Linked DNA regions of Homo sapiens: all the other regions are linked to region 2. The links are contacts of gene promoters, found by promoter capture Hi-C in human tissues and cell types (Jung and others, 2019). All regions are on one chromosome and are shown on one strand. Each heading gives the region's core, a stretch centred on a gene start or on the middle of the fragment in contact. The rest is flanking DNA. Distances are from core to core; before and after follow the strand shown. Region 1 holds the start of PAM16 (presequence translocase associated motor 16). Region 2 holds the start of TRAP1 (TNF receptor associated protein 1). Region 3 holds the start of CORO7 (coronin 7).

Region 1 (3,051 bases), core at 459-2,958, 630 kb before region 2:
GCCTGGGCAACAGAGTGAGACCCTATCTTGAAAAAAAAAAATTTTTTTTTGGCTGGGCACGGTGGCTTACACCTGTAATCCCAGCACTTTCGGAGGCTGAAGTGGGAGGATCACTTGAACCCAGGAGGTGGAGATCGCAGTGAGCCAAGATTGGGCCACTGCTCTCCAGCCTGGGTGACAGAGCAAGACTTCATCTCAAAAAAAAAAAAAAAAGGAAAAATAATTTAAAAATAAAAAACCGGTTGGGCACAGTGTCACATGCCTATAATCCCAGCACTTTGGGAGGCTGTGGCGGGTGGATCATTTGAGACCAGTAGTTCAAGACCAGCCTGGCCAACATGGTGAAACCCTGTCTCTACTAAAAATTCAAAAATTAATGGGGCATGGTGGTCCATGCCTGTAATCCCAGCTACTCAGGAGGCTAAAGCATGAGCATCGCCTGAACCTGGGAGGTGGAGGTTGCAGTGAGGCAGGATTGTGCCACTGGACTCCAGCCTGGGCGACAGGGTGAGACCCTGTCTCAAAATGATAAATAAAATAAATAAGTAAATTATGTGGTATGGTAGAGGGTGATCAGAGTCTTGGAAGAAAAATAGAGACAAGAAGGGAGGATAAGCCAGTCACAAAAGGCTGCACATTGTATGATTCAATTTCTTCTTTTTTTTCATTTTTCATTTTTACCTTTTTTTTTTTTTTTTTTTTTTTTGAGGCAGGGCCTGACTCTGTCACCCAGGCTGGAGTGCAGTGATCACAGCTCACTGCAGCCTGTACCTCCCGGGCTCAAGAGATCCACCACTCAGCCTCCCAAGTAGCTGGGATTACAGGCACCTGCCACCACACCCGGCTAATTTTTGTATTTGTAGAGATGGGGTTTCACCATGTTGCCCAGCCTGGCCTTGAGTTCCTGACCTCAAGCGATCCACCTCGGCCTCCCAAAGTTTTGAGATTGCAGGCATGAGCCACCACGCCTGGCTTGTATGATTCCATTTCTATGAAATGTCCGGAACCTGTGAATCCATAGAGAGAAAAATGAGTGGTTGACAGGGGCTGGGGGAGGGGGCTGGGGAGTGACTAATGGGTGATGAAAACGTTCTGGAACTAATAGTGGTGACAGTGGCACAGCTCTGTGAATAAAAGGCATTGGACTGTGCACTTGAAAATCATGAAATCTACAGTGTATGGATTATATCTCAATAAAGCTGTTACTTTTTTCATTCATGGAGGGCAAGTCACGGCGTTTTAAGGGGTCCAGGTGGGCCTCATTGAGGTGACATTTGAGCAAAGATTTGAAGAAGGGAACGAGCTTCTCAGGCAGGAGGAATGTGGATGAAACCTATTTTGAAGTTTTCTATTTTCTAAAGTATTTTTGAGAATTTAGCATCCTACTCCATATTATGTTCATTGATTTCATATAATGTTGCATTCCCAAATATTTTGGCAAAATCAAGGGCAGAAATCGCCCCACGTCTGACCGATGTGCTTAGCTGCTCCAGCGCACTGGGGTAAGCACGCGGGCAATTGAGACTCCCGGTAACGCCCCTTGCCCTCCCAAGCCCGCCCCCAGTTATCCAGAGCCCGACGCAGGCTCAGTCAAACCCCGCCTCCGACCCCGCCCCGAGCCGCTAAGACGCTCCCGGTGGCCCGCCCTTAGACTGAGGCAATGCGCATGCCCAGCGCCGTATCGCGCACGCGCTCTCTGCGGCTTTCCTTGACCTCTGACCCGCCGACCACGCTTGATCCCCGGCCGCGGGGCCAGGAAGTCGGAGTTTGAGCCCCGGAGGCAGAGCGGCTGCCATGGTGAGCCCCGAGTCGGGCGCTACCGGGGAGGGGAAGCCGAGTCGGGCCGGGGGCCGGGGGCCGGGCGGCGAGCTCCGGGCTGGGCGGCGGGCGCCGTGCGCCCCCTGCGTGCCCGGCGGGAAGCATGGTCTGGGGGCGTTGCACCCGGGGGAATCGAGGCCGGCAGCGGCGGCACCGGCGGCCTCAGGGCCAGGGAAAACCGTCTGCCTGGAAGAGGCCGGGCAAACGTGGTCGCGCTGTGCCTAGCCCGCGTGTGAGCGAGCAGCCGTGGGCAGCGGTGGAGCATGAGTCTGGCTGGTGAGCGCCTCCCCTGCCCTGGAACCTTACAGCGCTGCAGAGTCGATGTTGCTGCCCTGTTGTTATCCCCAGTGGAAAGCTGGCCTTTCCAGGGAAGTGGCTGACCTGGGACTTGAACTAGGCCCCGAGACACCGAGCACGGAGCGTTTGTGTGATATCGTTGGCACGTAGAGCCAGTCAACAGACCTGCGCCACACTGTCAGGTCACCTAGGGTAGCTTTAAAAGTGCAGGTTTGGCTGGGCGCGGTGGCTCACGCCTGTAATCCCAGCACTCTGGGAGGCCGAGGCGGCGGATCACGAGGTCAGGAGTTCGAGACCAGCCTGGCCAACATGATGAAACCCGGTCTCCACCAAAAAATTTAAAAAATTAGCCGGGTGGGGTGGTGCGCGCCTGTAGTCCAAGCTACCCGGGAGGCTGAGGCAGGACAGACGCTTGAACCCGCGAGACAGAGGTTGCAATGAGCCGAGATCCGCCAGTGCACTCTAGCCTGGGCGACAGGGTGAGACTGCGTCTCAAAAAAAAAATTATATATATGTATTATATATACCGTATACATTTATGTATACTACATATTATTATGTTATATATATTTTTATATATCATGTATTTTATATATATATATACACACACACACACATAATATATACATATGTTAGCCAGGCATGGTGGCACACACCTGTAATCCCAGCTGCTTGGGAAGTTGAGGCGCCAGTATCGCTTGAACCCAGGAGGCAGAGGCTGCAGTGAACCAAGATTGTGCCACTGCACTCCAGTCTGGGCGACAGGGCAAAACTCTCTCAAAAAGAAAAAGAGGGGGAAAAAAAAAGTTCAGGTTCTTGAGCTCTATCCCTGGAGGTTCTGCACACGTAAGTTCCCCAAGTGACTCTGTTGCAGCTGGTTCGGGGAGCCACTTCTTAACTAACATAGTAATAAGGATAATGTAACAGCTAACGGCG
Region 2 (2,944 bases), core at 136-2,635:
CGGTACAGGTATGTTTGGTACAGACAGGGTCTCACCATGTTGCCCACGCTGCTCTCCAACTCCTGACCTCAAGCAATTCGCCCACCTCGGCATCCCAAAGTGTTGGGATTACAGGTGTGAGTCACCGTGCTCGTGCCCACAACCCCTTATCTTCACCCAGACACTCTTTTTATTGATTCCAGGTCTGTATAACTCAACTCTTTTTTTTCTTTTTTTTGTTTTCTTTTTTTTTTTTTTTTGAGACGGAGTCACAGCTCTGTCGCCCAGGCTGCAGTGCAAGTGGCACGATCTCGGCTCACTGCAACCGCAGCCTCCCGGGTTCACGCTATTCTTCCGCCTCAGCCTCCCCAGGAGCTGGGACTACAGGCACGTGCCACCTTGCCCAGCTAATTTTTTGTATCTTAGTAGAGATGATGGGTTTTCACCATGTTGGCCAGGCTGGTCTCGGACTCCTGACCGCAGGCAGTCCGCCCACCTCAGCCTCCCAAAGTGCTAGGATTACAGGCGTGAGCCACCGCGCCCAACCAGAACTCAACTCTTTTAACCAATTGCCAATCAGAAAGTATCTGAATCCACCTATGACCTCTAAGTATTTCACCCTTTGAGTTGTCCTGCCTTTCCACACGGAACCAACCTATGTCTTACATGCATTGACTGATGTCTTATGTCTCTCTAAAATGTATAAAACCAAGCAAGCTGTAACCCAAGCACCTTGGGCCAAGTTCTCAGGACCTTTTGAGACTGTGCCTCCCTCCATGCACACTCATATTTGGCTCAGAATAACCTTCTAAATACTTTAGAGTTTGACTCTTCTCGACAAGGACAAGAGAAGTGGAATAAACGAATAACCGCAGTTTTCCTGGTGGTATTGGTCACTGGGTTCAGGTTTTGGAGTAGTAGCCAGTCAAGCCTGGAATCCCCTTCCTCATTCGCTTTAGCTTTTTGTCCAGTCTTGGTTTGCAAGAGACTTGCAGCGGCCTAGACGGATGGCCGGGATTCACAAAGGTCGCAGACACGGGAACTGCTTCTTCCCCAGCGTCGCCTCCACACCCTCGCGTGGATACTGACATCCGCCCCATTCCAGGAATGCGCACAGCTAGGCGCAGCCGGCCAGCGTGGGCCGGGGGCGGCGGGGCCACCTCCCCCACCTCCGCGCGCAAGGCCCGTCGCCCTTGACAACGCGATCCAAGGTCACGGAGGTCCCACCCCCAGGCCCGACCGTCCACGAGACGGGTAGTACCCCGCCACGCGCCCGAGCAGGCAGCTGCCCGGACAGCCCGGCGCCCGCCGTGACGTCACCGCCCCGCGCCCGAGGAAGCCCCGCCCCGCGCAGCCCCGTCCCGCCCCTTCCCATCGTGTACGGTCCCGCGTGGCTGCGCGCGGCGCTCTGGGAGTACGACATGGCGCGCGAGCTGCGGGCGCTGCTGCTGTGGGGCCGCCGCCTGCGGCCTTTGCTGCGGGCGCCGGCGCTGGCGGCCGTGCCGGGAGGTGAGGGCGTCCTGGCTGGACGGGCAGCGGGCGGGCCGGGCCACGGAGACGGCAGGGACGTCCCTGTGCTCCGGGGAGCGAGGCGCCGGCACCTGCTTCACAGGCGTGGGAGGTCCGGCGAGGCCAAGCGCGGCAGACGCGTTTACTTTCGCTCCGCTCCTCGCCAGCTCCAGCTTGGCTGCCTTTTCCTCGGCTGGACTCCCCTCGCCACCCGCCCATGGGAGCCCTGAAGGAGGCTGGGTCTTGGGGGGTCGCGGGGTCGGGCGGAGCGGCTGCGGGGTCGTCCCTCCTGGAGCTTCGGTCCAGTCAGGTAGCGCACGTGCAGGTGGAGCCGCTGCGGAGCGCGGAGTCTTTGCGGGTGCATGTTGCGGGGAATGGACTCACTCGGGGTGATCGTGCTAGTTCCATGGATCGTGCTTTACCCCTCCCCGCCTCCCAGTAGCGCACTGAGGGTTCATTTGTTAATTCGTTCATTGGACGCACATGTGAGCGCCCGCTCAGTGCCCGGCGCCGTGCAGGTTCTGGGGACGCCACAGTGAACAAAACCTATAGCAGTCATCCGGGTCCCCAGAGCAGGTGGACTCGATGTCGTTGACGCAGCTGTGTCCTCGGGGCCTGGAATTGATGGATGCGCCAATAAATGTTTGTAAAACAGAGAGAACGACCCTAACCTCTGCTTTCCCAGTCCCCACTCGGAGGTAACAACAGTGAAAGTTTCGGCATTGCTTCGGGGCTGTACACAGTGTTATACGTGTAAATATAAATGTCTGCGTATAAGTATTTTTTATTCTAAAAAGCCTAAACCATGTATGCATTGTGCTACGTTGTACTTCAGAAAATTTTAACGCTCCCAGCATTCTTTCCACATCTTTTCATGTCAGTGTATACAGGTCCATGTGCCTTCCAGTGACCACACAGTATTCTGTATGATGGACGTGTCATTTGTTTAAACATTGTCCTATTAGTGGACGCAATAAAGGTTATTTCAGGTTTTACTTTTTATTACAATGCTGCATAGAATGGGTGAGTACTTAAATATTTGTTCACGTGCGGTATTTCTTTAGCCTTACATAATTAGAATTTTAGAATTGATATTTCAGAGCCTATGCATTTTTGAAATGTTAGCAGATACTGCCAAATTGTCCAAAAAGGCCTTATCAATTTATATCCCCTTTAGCAGGCATCAAGACTGCCTATTCCAAAGGTATTTTCTTCAACGCTGAATCTTATGTCTTTTCAAAACCAGTGGTCTATAAAAGATACCTTGTGGCCGGGCGCGGTGGCTCACGCCTGTAATCCTAGCACTTTGGGAGCCTGAGGTGGGCAGATCAGGAGTTCAAGACCAGCCTGGCCAACATGGTGAAACCCTGTCTCTACTAAAAATACAAAAATTAGCTGGGTGTGGTGGCGCGCGCCTGTAATCCCAGCTTCTTGGGAGGCTGAGGCAGGAGAATCG
Region 3 (3,097 bases), core at 197-2,696, 700 kb before region 2:
CCTTTTTGGACTGGGCGCAGTGGCTTATGCCTCTAATCCCAGCACTTTGGGAGGCTGAGGCAGGTGGATCACTTGAGGTCAGGAGTTTGAGACCAGCCTGGCCAACATGGCAAAATCCCATCTCTACTAAAAATACAAAAATTAGGAGTAGTGGCGCACACCTGTAATCCCAGCTGCTTGGGAGGCTGAAGCAGGAGAATCGCTTGAACTCAGGAGGTGGAGGTTGCAGTGAGCTGAGATGACACCACTGCACTCCAGCCTGGGCAACAGAGTGAGACTCTGTCTCAAAACAAACAAACAAAAAGCCTTTTCAATAAACCACAAGTGACTTTGGTTCACAGTAAATACACTTCTGCCCGAACTAAGATAAAATGTAAGCATTGCTTTTCAAACCTTAGAAATGCAAGAATCAGCTGGGTGCGTTGGCTCATTCCTATAATCCCCACACTTTGGCAGGCCAAGTTGGGAGGACTGCTTGAGTCTCGTTCGAGACCAGCCTGACCATCATGGTGAAACCCCGTCTCTTACTAAAAATAAAAAATTAGTTGGGCGCGGTGGCAGGCGCCTGTAATCCCAGCTATTCGGGAGGCTGAGGCAAGAGAATTGCTTGAACCCGCGAGGCAGAGGGTGCAGTGAGCTGAGATCGCGCCACTGCACTCCAGCCTGGGTGACAGGGACTCCGTGTCAAATAAATGAATAAATACTAAAGAAAAATTAAAAGCTATTATTATTATTATTTTTAGAGGCAGGGTCTCTTTCTGTCTCCCAGGCTGGAGTGCAGTGGCACGGTCACAGATAACTGCAGCCTCGACCTCTTGGGCTCAAGGGATACTCCTGCCTCAGTCTCCCAAAGTTCGGGATTACAGACCTGAGCCACCGCGCCTGGCCGGATGCAGAGCGCCTGGCCGGATGCAGAGGCTTTTGAGTAGGCCCGGTGGACAGGGATTTGCTTTAGACCTGGGCCCCTGTTCCCCCTCTGCCTCTTACCACTGGTGTGACCTGGGGACCGACAGTTTACACTCTCCTTTAGCCGGGGGTTTCCTGTCTCTGAAATGGAGCTAATTTCTCCCCTCTCTACAGGAAGAGGTAGATAGTGCTGGAAGGCGTGCTAGGTACACCGCAAAGACTCCACAGCAAATCCTGCACACAAAATCGCGAATGCTGCAGCCGAGACCCCACGCAAGCAAGCACCGCAGGAGACGTGGGCTGACAGCTGCGCCCCACGTGACCTCCCACCCGCGCCAGTCCGTCCCCTCGGTATCAGGGCGTGGCCTCGCGGGGCGGCCGTACCTGGATTGGCCGGGAGGCGGGACCGGTGGTGCGCGCGCGAAAGGAGAGGGGCTTGGGGGCGTGGCCCAGGGGGCCGGAGACGGCTGCGATTGGCAGTGGGGCGCGCCGGGGGCGTGACCGCGGCATTGGGTCCCGGGTGGGGCCGAGGCAGCGGGAGTCGCGGTTGCTCAGCGTGCACCTGAGACCCGACGCCCGGGGTCCTCGAAGACGCGTCCGCCGCCGTGCCCGTCGCCATGAACCGCTTCAGGGTGTCCAAGTTCCGGCACACCGAGGCTCGGCCGCCCCGCCGCGAGGTGAGTCCGGCCCGAGGACCGGGCGCTGTCGCCTCGGGCCCCGTCCGGCTGCCCCTCCCCCTGCCCGGACCCCACAGGGGTGCCCTCCAGGGCCGTCTGGAACCCCGAGACCTCCATCCCCGGGGAACCCCCCTTCAGGCCAGGGCCCCGGCGTCCGGGCCGTTTCGTCGCCGCCGGAGGGCAGAGTCCGGCACTCCCGTGACTCGCTCTGGCGCTCGGTGACCCTGGCGGTCTGCCCGCCTCGCCCACCTCGCCCCGGGACCCCCGAGGCGGCGCAGCCCTCCTAGCCGGGGCCCAGGCCTGCGAGGCCGCCTGCCTTCCCAGCTTCCGGTCGGCCTCGCCGGGAGCCGGGGCTCGGGGCGCTGCCGGCGCCTGGCTCCTCCTCCCTGCCGCCCCGGGTCGCCCCTGCCCCTGGCTGGGCTGTGGGGAGACGCCCCTCTCTCCTCTGGCCCCGGCGAGCCCAAGTGTGTCAGTGGTGGGGAGGGAGCCCCTCGGCCGCACGCGCCCCTCCCTCGGGTTTCCGCCGGTGCTTCCTCCTCTCGCCGCTGGCGCAAGCTCTTTCTTTATCTCGGTGATGCTGCCACGGCTGGGTGGGGCCTGGGGAAGCCTGAGCAGGTGGAGCCCCAAAGAATTGCTGAGCCAGGTGCCGGGAGACCCTTCGGACCCCCGAAACGGCAGGAGGACTGATGAGGGGTGCGCCTTGGAAACGATGTCAGCTCTGCTCTTCCGCTTTCCGTGTTATTTGTAAGGCCTGGGAGTGTCCTCCGATAACTGGGCCTAGGAGTTGACCTCAAGTGACCCCATCAGGGTCCCAGAGCAAGTCAGGGCAGTCTGGGTAGAGGTTCCGTTTTTGTAGTGTGGACTATATTTCCTCTGCTTCCACTTTATGCTGTGCTAAGCTGCTGGAGACATCCCGGTGAACACAACGGCATTTTCCTTCCCCTGTGGCACTTGTAGCCTCATGAGGGAGACAGCAAGCAGACAAACAAGAGCATTGGAGGTTTTCATAACGACATTGAAGAACACACATGAGGGACTGGGATGGAGAATGGAGGGGGCCAGTCTCAGTAGCGTGGTCAGGAAAGGCTGCCTGGAGTAGATGGCATTTTAGCTGAGGCCAGAAGGGTGAGAATTGAGAAAGAGCCTGGTGGAGAAATGGAAAGTGAGCATGAGTGGATGGAGGGGATGGCCGGAGCAGTATGGTGACAGATGAGTCCAGAGTGGTCCTGCAGAACCCAAGGGCCACCGGAAGAAGTTGGGTTTTATTCTGATTGCAGTGCAGAGCCATTGAAAAGTTAGGGGGAGGGGCTGGATACCATGACTCACGGTAATCCCAGTACTTTGGGTGGACTGCTTTGAGCTCAGGAGTTCGAGACCAGCCTGGGCAACATTGCGAAACCCCTCTGAACAACAAGTTAAAGAAAAAAAAATTAGCCAGGTGTGGTGACTCACTCCCGTGGTCCCAGCTACTTGGGAGGCTGAGGTTGGAGGATCTCTTGAGCCGAGGAAGTGGA

The links. The method cuts DNA at HindIII sites, captures the fragments that hold promoters and counts their contacts. A contact is called where the count stands out against the background at its distance.
Region 1: the fragment with the promoter of PAM16 here is called in contact with the fragment with the promoter of TRAP1 in region 2 in 6 of the 25 tissues and cell types used here (dorsolateral prefrontal cortex, heart left ventricle, heart right ventricle and 3 more).
Region 3: a contact is called between the fragment with the promoter of CORO7 here and the fragment with the promoter of TRAP1 in region 2, in 1 of the 25 tissues and cell types used here (dorsolateral prefrontal cortex).

The regions. Positions count from the first base shown.
Region 1 is chr16:4,349,978-4,353,028 of GRCh38, reverse strand. It overlaps PAM16 (presequence translocase associated motor 16), which reads left to right and starts at 1,708. Exons shown (of 5, transcript NM_016069.11): 1 at 1,708-1,797. The coding sequence starts at 1,795. All of the region lies in intron 27 of CORO7-PAM16 (CORO7-PAM16 readthrough), which reads left to right. The HindIII fragment of the contact is 27,496 bases long and covers 1-3,051 here.
Region 2 is chr16:3,715,965-3,718,908 of GRCh38, reverse strand. It overlaps TRAP1 (TNF receptor associated protein 1), which reads left to right and starts at 1,385. Exons shown (of 18, transcript NM_016292.3): 1 at 1,385-1,488. The coding sequence starts at 1,401. RefSeq lists silencers at 1,035-1,644, 1,665-1,784. The HindIII fragment of the contact is 28,184 bases long and covers 1-2,944 here.
Region 3 is chr16:4,414,945-4,418,041 of GRCh38, reverse strand. It overlaps CORO7 (coronin 7), which reads left to right and starts at 1,446. Exons shown (of 28, transcript NM_024535.5): 1 at 1,446-1,583. The coding sequence starts at 1,524. CORO7-PAM16 (CORO7-PAM16 readthrough) reads left to right here and starts at 1,446. Exons shown (of 31, transcript NM_001201479.2): 1 at 1,446-1,583. The coding sequence starts at 1,524. It overlaps LOC124903635 (a long non-coding RNA gene), which reads left to right. Exons shown (of 3, transcript XR_007064963.1): 3 at 1,081-1,317. The HindIII fragment of the contact is 38,450 bases long and covers 1-3,097 here.